Regions from separate parts of the Homo sapiens genome. Here regions 1 and 2 are each linked to region 3. Evidence: promoter capture Hi-C in 16 types of primary human blood cells and fetal thymus (Javierre and others, 2016). All regions are on one chromosome and are shown on one strand. Each heading gives the region's core, a stretch centred on a gene start or on the middle of the fragment in contact. The rest is flanking DNA. Distances are from core to core; before and after follow the strand shown.

What was found. Contacts are between HindIII fragments. The CHiCAGO score rates a contact against its expected background, and 5 or more counts as called.
Region 1: a fragment that was not itself captured here is called in contact with the fragment with the promoter of ZC2HC1A in region 3 in 7 of 17 cell types (naive CD4 T cells, activated CD4 T cells, non-activated CD4 T cells and 4 more); the score reaches 12.7 in naive CD4 T cells.
Region 2: a contact is called between a fragment that was not itself captured here and the fragment with the promoter of ZC2HC1A in region 3, in 1 of 17 cell types (total B cells). The highest score is 6.8, in total B cells.

The regions. Positions count from the first base shown.
Region 1 is chr8:78,390,508-78,393,207 of GRCh38, reverse strand. No RefSeq gene overlaps it. Among named protein-coding and RNA genes, the nearest start is that of PKIA, 120 kb to the left of the region's middle. The HindIII fragment of the contact is 2,565 bases long and covers 157-2,700 here.
Region 2 is chr8:78,932,686-78,935,385 of GRCh38, reverse strand. It overlaps MITA1 (metabolism induced tumor activator 1), which reads right to left. Exons shown (of 3, transcript XR_002956715.2): 2 at 1,493-1,643. All of the region lies in intron 2 of LOC105375912 (a long non-coding RNA gene), which reads left to right. Among named protein-coding and RNA genes, the nearest start is that of LINC02605, 97 kb to the right of the region's middle. The HindIII fragment of the contact is 1,609 bases long and covers 476-2,084 here.
Region 3 is chr8:78,664,737-78,667,436 of GRCh38, reverse strand. ZC2HC1A (zinc finger C2HC-type containing 1A) reads right to left here and starts at 1,348. Exons shown (of 9, transcript NM_016010.3): 1 at 1,273-1,348. The coding sequence starts at 1,288. It overlaps LOC105375911 (a long non-coding RNA gene), which reads left to right and starts at 1,458. Exons shown (of 4, transcript XR_007060972.1): 1 at 1,458-2,432. RefSeq lists enhancers at 1,195-1,244, 1,209-1,716, 1,717-2,225 and a silencer at 1,315-1,534. The HindIII fragment of the contact is 1,596 bases long and covers 338-1,933 here.

The DNA of each region.
Region 1 (2,700 bases), core at 190-2,689, 270 kb after region 3:
TAGGTATATAAATTGATGTATAGTCACTTAAGTGTTGTATACTATAGTTTCAGACAATTCCCTCCTTCATATATTTTTCTTCCCTTCAACAAATATATGTTGAATGTCTAGTACAAGTCAAGGAGCTCTATGTGAAATTGTAATGTTGGTAAAGCTTGATTTTGACTTTGCAGCCTATGTGGTGATACATTTTCCCCCAAGTGTATGAAAGATGGTGGTGGGAAGAGGCTAGGCCTGTTTCTGTGGAACCCAAATTTTCTTTGCCAACTGCCAACTTTCAGTATTAGAAAAAGATTTCCTTCGTTAGAAAGGGTTTTGAGTTGATAAAATGCAAGTATTTCTATAAAAATGCAAGTATTTTCAAAGTGTGTAAAATATAGGGCATTATGTGTTTTTCTGAGTTGGTATGAGTTGAATTTCATTGGCGCAAACTGGAGTCTCTCTGTTATATGTGTATGTGTGTGTGTGTCTGGGCATGTGAAGGCATGAGCGTGTGTGTGTAAATCTATTGAGGATACAAAAAAGACCCTGGATGGAAACAGCAGTGCTATAGAAAAGGGGGGAAGAGTATAAAAGACAAACTTAACCTACTTAGTTTCTCCTTGCCTAGGGGTAGTCTTATTTTCTAGGATTCTTTCATGATCTATTTACTAAATGCCCAGTGTCCCTAGGTGCCTCTGTGAGTCTTACAAACCTCTCAGTAGCCTATGTGTGGGAGGTGGAACCTTGACATTTTGCCTATTCGGGTTTCCTTTCTCTGAGAGTTTTTCTCTGAGCTACGTGATAGGTAGATTTCTGGTGAAAAACTGTACTCATTGTTAACAAGAAATGTCTGACTTAATGATTCAAACAAATAAAGAGTATCTTGACTCAAGTGTGAAGCACCTCTAGGCTTCATGTAACAGAGATACTTTGAGACAGGAAGATCTTTCAGTATCCACTAAGATCATAGTACAATACTATTGAGTAATTTGAAGTCTAACCTTGTTCAAATGTGGGAAGATATATCTTGGATTGCATCATTGTCTGCTTATCCCCTTACACACATATCAAATAGCTTAAAGTTTAAAAAAGTAATACTAGAAAAAAGTCTGTGTTTAAGGTAGGCATGTTATTATGTTTATTTTCCCCGGCACATAGTAGATAAAGGTGTACCTTAGAGATACTGTGGGTTTGGTTCCAGACCATGGCAATAAACAAATACCACAATAAAACAAGTCACACAATTTTTTTTTTTTTTTTTTGGTTTCCCAGTGCCCATAAAAGATATATCTGGAGGGGCAAGGTGGCTCATGCCTGTAATCCCAGCACTTTGGGAGGCCTATGGGCGGATCACGAGGTCAAGAGATGCAGACAATCCTGACCAACATGGTGAAACCCCGTCTCTAGTAAAAATACAAAAATTAGCTGGGTGTGGTGGTGCGCCTGTAATCCTAGCTACTTGGGAGGCTGAGGCAGGAGAATCGCTTGAACCCAGAGGCAGAGTTTGCAGTGAGTCAAAGATCACGCCACTGCACTCCAGCGTGGCGACAGAGTGAGACTCCATCTCAAAAAAAAATTATATTTATACTATACTGTTGTCTATTAAGTTCACAATAGCATTACATCTAAAAAAACAATGTACACCTTAATTAAAATATTGCTAAAATACACAAAACTCACTGAGTAGTAATCTTCTTGCTGGTGGAAGATCTTGCCTTAGTGTTGATGGCTACTGACTGATCAGGGTGTTGACTGTGGTGATTTCTTAAAATACACCAACAATAAAGTTTGCCACATTGATTGACTCTTTGTTTCACAAATTATTGCTGTATAGCATGCAATGCTATTTAATAACATTTTACCCAGAGTAGAATGTTCTTCAAAATTGGAGGCAATCCTCTCAAACTCTGCTGCTGCTTTATCAACTAAGTGTGTGGAATATACTTAAATTATTTGTTCTTGTTTTGACAATGTTCGTAGCATCTTGATCAGGAGTAAATTCTGTCTTAACAAACCACTTTCTTTGCTCATGTGTAACAAGAAACTCTTCATCCATTCAAGTTTGATCGTAACATTGCAGCAATTCAGTTACATCTTCGGGCTCCACTTTGGATTCTAGTTCTCTTGCTATTTCTACCACATCTGCAGCTACCTTCTTCACTGCAGTCTTAAATGCCTCAGTCATCATGAGGGTTGAAATCAACTTCCAAAATCTATTTAATGTTGATGTTTTAAACTCTTCTCATGAATCACAAATGTCCGTAATGACATCTAGAATGGTGAGTCTTTTTCAGAAGTTTTCAAATTTATTTTGCCTAGATCAATCAGAGAAATCACTATCTATGGCAGCTGTAGTGTTATAAAATGTATTTCTTAAATAATAAGACTTGAAAGTAGAAATTACTCCTTGATTCATAAGCCGCAGAATGAATGTTGTGTTAGCATAAAAACATTACTCTCTGTGTACATCTCTATCAGAGCCCTTGGATTACTCGCACATTGTCAATGAGCAGTATCTTTTGAAAGTAATCCTTTTCTTCTGATCAGTAGGTCAACAGTGGGCTTAAAATATTTGGAAAACTGTGTGGTAAACAGATGCGTTGCCATCTAGGCTTTATTATTCTATTTATAGAGCATAGGCAGGGTAGATTAGATTTAGTATAATTCTTAAGAGGCCTAGGATTTTTAAAATGGTAAATGAACATTGGCTTCAGTTTA
Region 2 (2,700 bases), core at 31-2,530, 270 kb before region 3:
AATCCCAATAATGATAATAAAGGAGCTGGGAGGAAACTTTGGGAGATGACAGGTGTACTATGGCCTTGGTAGTGGTGATGATTTCATGGGTTTATACTTATCTCCAAAGTCACTGTGAGATTGTATATAAAATAGGTACAGTTTTTAAACATGTCAATCATACCTGAATAAAGTGGTTTAAAGACAAAAACAATATATTCTTCATAAGCAGTTCCACTTACTGTATTTTTTTTCTAATATGAGAGCAATTCTCCAGAAACTTCAGCTGTGGGAAAATAAGAAAATCACTGCCAAAGATTTGGCCCATTGCCTTATAAATTATTGAATATATCGGTTATTAAATTTGTAGCCTACAAAACCACTTCTGAGATAACTTGGCCTGCCTAGCATAGAGTTAAGCTTAGAATAATTTTCTAGCTACCAAATTTCAGGAAGGATTTGATTTTATTTGGTTAATTATGGAGAACAACAAGCTTTATTAGGATTTCATTATAGTCCTCTGAATCCCATGAGATTTCCATAGTTAGAAATGAATTTTTAAAGTCTTGCTGAAATAGCTTCGATTATTTCTTGAGGTTTTTTAAAAATGATACTTTACTTTGGTGGCTTATCTGTTGTTGACCTTAAAGTGACCATAATATACTTTTTAATATTTTCTTCAAAATAATAATGATAAGCACAATACAGTATTTTTAACCATAGGCACTTAGCTGTATAGTAGATCTCTAGAATTCATTCATGTAGCATAATTGAAACTTTATAACCATTGAACAACTCCTCACCTCTCTTAACTTGCCCCTGACAACCACTGTTATATTCTCTGCTTCTATGAGTTTGACTATTATAGATACCTCACATAAGTGTAATAATAAACTATTTACCCTTCTTGAATGGCTTCTTTCTCTTAGCATAATGTCCTTCAGGTTCATCCATGTTGTCTCAAATGGCAGGATTTTCTTTTTTTTAAGGATGAATAATTCCATTGTATACTACATTTTCTTTATGCATTTATCTGTCAATGGAAACAGGTTGTTTTCATATCTTGGCTATTGTGACTAATTTTACAATGAACATGGGAATGAAGATGTCTCTTTGAGATCCTGATTTCAATCCCTTTGAATATATACCCAGAGGTGGTATTGCTGGATCATATGTTAAGAAGGTAGATTTCCTGTTAGGTGTTCTTCCCAGGAAAATGAAAGAAAACAAAAACAAAGGGACACAAAAAAACTTGGAGAAGTTGCATACATCTATTACCTTGAGTGGTGATGGTTGTGTGGGTATTTGCATACATCCAAATTCATCAAATTATACACCCTGAATATGTGCAGTTCTTTGTATATCAATTATACCTCAATAAAGCTGTTAAAATTTAAAAATATATATATAATAAAATAACAAAATAATGATGAAGCCAACACATGTTAAGAATTTATCATATGCAAGGCATTCTGAGAAACTCATCACAAGGATTACTTCATTTAATACTCACATAGTCCTCTGAAGTAGTTGCTATCATTATTCCAGTTTGCAGATGAAGAAATGCAGGCACAGAGAAGGAAAATATTTGGCCATGGGTCACACAGCTAATGGACTTAGTTCTGTATAACTGCAGAACTCATACTGTTAGCAACTGTGGTTGTCTGTAATTAATTTAAAGATAGAATAAGTTAAATCTGGTATTTTCATTTCATAGTGTTTAATGTCCTAATGATTAATTTTTAAGTGTATAAATTAATGTTTTATTATCTTCAAAAGCAAATAAAGCAAGCATTTTTTTATTGCTATGATCCCAATTTTTTCTCCTCTACAAAATTGATAAACAATAATAAAGTGTTCCCATTTCTGATTTATAACATAATGCAAAATGTATTGTTTTCAAATTTCTAAGATAAGAATAAAGTTATTTTCACAATTAAATATTTTAGAAGAAGAAGAGTGGTATTCGGGTATTCTAAACTAATAACTGGCATTTCCTTATTTTCCTTCTCTCCTTCATCTTTCCTTCCCTTTGCCTCTCATTAGCCCACCTTTTACATGTACGTTTGGGTGCTTCTTTCTCGGGCTTATAATCACATAAAGCTTTCTATAATTCAATATTACTCTAAATAGTCATCCTCATTTGAGTGAGACTGGCAAACAGGTAACAAGAACAACATTAGTCATTATTTTCATCTTCTTGACTATTCTCCTTCTCCAAACATCTTTTGCTTCCCCCTTTTAAGAAAGAAATTATGGATATAAGTGCACTTTAATATGTTTACCTAACTGGAGGTTTATGCCATAGCAACATGGCTCAGTGTCTCTTCAGGAGGTATATTCCCTGTCTCCTCCCTTTCCTTTCATCCCTGTCCTTGTATTTGTATGCAACTCTTCCTCTCTCTGACCCCCTTCTTGTTTAACATTCATTCTTCTCTTCCATTCAAGAAAGGAAATGTAGAATGGGAACATAAAGTGGCATTGGAGCAAGACTAGAAGTGCTATGTTTCTCCAGGGAGATCATGCGGCCAATGGAAATACTTTAGTACTGGTGCTTCTTTATTAGCCCAGGGAATTATAAGGGTATTTCAACCTGCTCTTTGTAATAACTCCGGGGAATAATAAACAGGGAAGATCAGGGAGAAGAGCCGCCATGTTTGGTATGGTAAAGCATGCAACGGAATCCATAGAATTTGCCATCTCAGTTTGGAATGTAAGCCA
Region 3 (2,700 bases), core at 99-2,598:
TAATCCCACCAAGATACAAAAGTATCTTGAAAGTAAAATATACTGTACTATCATTACAATTCCTTATTTCATGGAAACTTGAATTATCTTCCAAAAACACATAAGCAAAAAACAAGACCTTCATTAGGCCATAGCATACTGCAGCTGTCCACAAACGGAAAATTATCAGAATCATTTATCAGAGCAAAAGCACGAAATAAACTTCTACTCATGTTATTACATCTGCTTTTTGGTGAATAGGTGACTGAAAAAGTTACCGGCTACCACTTTGCACTTCATCACACAATGTAGAATATTTTACTCCCTGGCATGCAACAATACACAAGACTCAAAAGCTTCTGCTCATTCTTAATTCCAACTGAATCCGTGTAAACTAGGAGACGGGGGAAAGGAGCTAAATCAAGACAATAGGATCTTTCAATTCTGAAGGTTTGTTCTTCATCATAACAAATTAAAAAATCTTGAAACTGTTGTTGCCAATGCTAGTTATTGTGGTTTTTGTCCTTCCTTTGTTTTTAGGTGAATGCTTTCATTACACAGGATAAAATGGGTAAACAGAATAGAGAAAAAGTGAAAGAACTGGGAACAAAGCAAAATCTGGAGTCATGGTTACAGTACAAAGATAAACCCAAAGATAAGGAACCAATACAGGCTCTTCCTCACACAGCGGCCGTGAATAAGTCATCAAATCCTCCGGGTAATCTATTGTACCGGCTCTAAAGCTGGCCAGTGACACTTCCTTAGGAGATGCTCTGACATCCCTCCGACAGAAGATGCTGTCGAAATGTAAAAAGCCGGTTACCTAGGGAAATCGGCCAAGGAATGTCAGGAGCTCGAGGCTGGAGACACACCCCGGGGCTGCAGCACAAAGTGGCCTGTTGGTGTTAAGGCCGTGGACAATAATGGAGAGAGTCCAGTACAAGGAAAACAAAATCTGGCCAGAGACTGGGATCACTAAAAGGGCACTCAGGAGTCAAGCAAGATCAGAAAATGGTAGGAAGAGACGTGCAGGCGTCTTGCCAGGGGCAGGATCTGGCTCCGGGCGGGAAAGCCCAGTTGAAGACCGTCTGAGGCGGGGCAGCCTGGTAGCGTTAGCTCCACCGCATCGGGGACTGTCCGGTTCCCTTCGGCCCCAGCCTCCGGAGGCGCGGCGGGACGCGGCGAGGTCCGCCGCACCGAACCAGCCCTCGCCTTCCTGCTACTGGTGTCCAGGGTCCCCAGCTGTTTCGGGCCCGCTCTAGCCGTCCTGCCCTCATCCCTTCATCGCCTCACCTTCCAGTCCCTCCATCGCGCCACCTCCTCGAGCTCAGCGAGACTCCTTCAGCAGCGCCCGCCACCGCCCAGCTCTGGCTGTAGCAACCCAGCCGCACCTCCCACCCGCTAACATTCCGAGCTCCCATTGGTTCCGCAACTGCGGGGGCGGGGATCCGTGGGGGCGGGGCCGCGGCGGAGGCGAGGTTCCTGCGGTCTCCTCCTGGCTGCCACCCCTGTCCGTCTCTCCGGGTTACTCTCCAGGGAGCCGGGAGCCGCTTCAGGTTGCAATCTGCGATGCAACGGCGCCTTTGTTTGACTCCAGCCTTGTTTTGCCTCATACCTTATCCTCCTATTTAGAGTACCTCAGCACCTCATGGGCTCCGCTTCACCAGTTCCTCAATCAGTCAATGCCTCTGACTTCTAGCCGCCATCCCTCCCAGTGGATACTTTAAGCAGGCAAGCAAACCAAACAAACGCCCAGCACGCTTGCATGCAGCAATCTCCGTTTTCCGGTCTTTGGTCGCATGACTTGACCTCAGCGTATCCCCTACACTTGATCTTCACACACAGCTTCATAGGTTAAGACACTTTTTTTCCAGAGAAATCATACTTTCTATCTGCGATTGTGGAACTGCGATTGCTCTAAGCCCTTGAAAACAGTTTCCTCACCATGAAAGCTTGGGCCAAAAATTAGAAGTGAAACCCAGCCCTCCCTCTGTCTTCTACTCTTGGCCTACCTTGGCCCTATACTTTATCATCCATAAACCAAAACAGTCGCCTGGCCTGACAATGTTTGATCGGGGAAGTTTGAGTTGGGGAATTAACCTACAACCTGACAGAATGAGGCCCGCCCGTCTCTAACAGAGTTCAAAACCTCCTGAAGATGAAAGTAACTTCAAAACTAACTCAGACCATTTTAACGGTTTTGCTTACAATTACCAGAACTACATTTCTTTGAAAATTTGATTTAGCAATCGTAAACAAGCTGTACTGTTTGCTGACTATAGCGTATCTACTGGCAAGTTACCAGTATTAATGTGTTGTCCATAACAAACCTCGGATTAATGTTATTGTTAATCTGTTTAATTGAAGAGTTTAACTTCATATCTAACTTCATCTACTATGAAATCAGTTACCTTCAGGAAGCAGGATTCCTCCTACTCTCCACTCACATGAAGGTATGTTTAAACAAGCAAACACTTGAGGGGGCATCATCTCTTACTGAGAAGGTGCTCCAAGTGCATTTGAATGTGGTAGAGTCCATCTGTTGTGTGGAGCCATGTAAAGACCACTTCAACCATGCCTCAATGACTCCCTCCGCCCTTCCCTGGTTCCCCTGGCTCTTCTGCTTCTCTGAGATCCTGGGCCTCCTTGGCCAACCCATAGCCTTGCAGGCAATAAGCTACTCTAGACTGGGTGCTGCGGAAAGGTCCTTTTTCTTCCTTA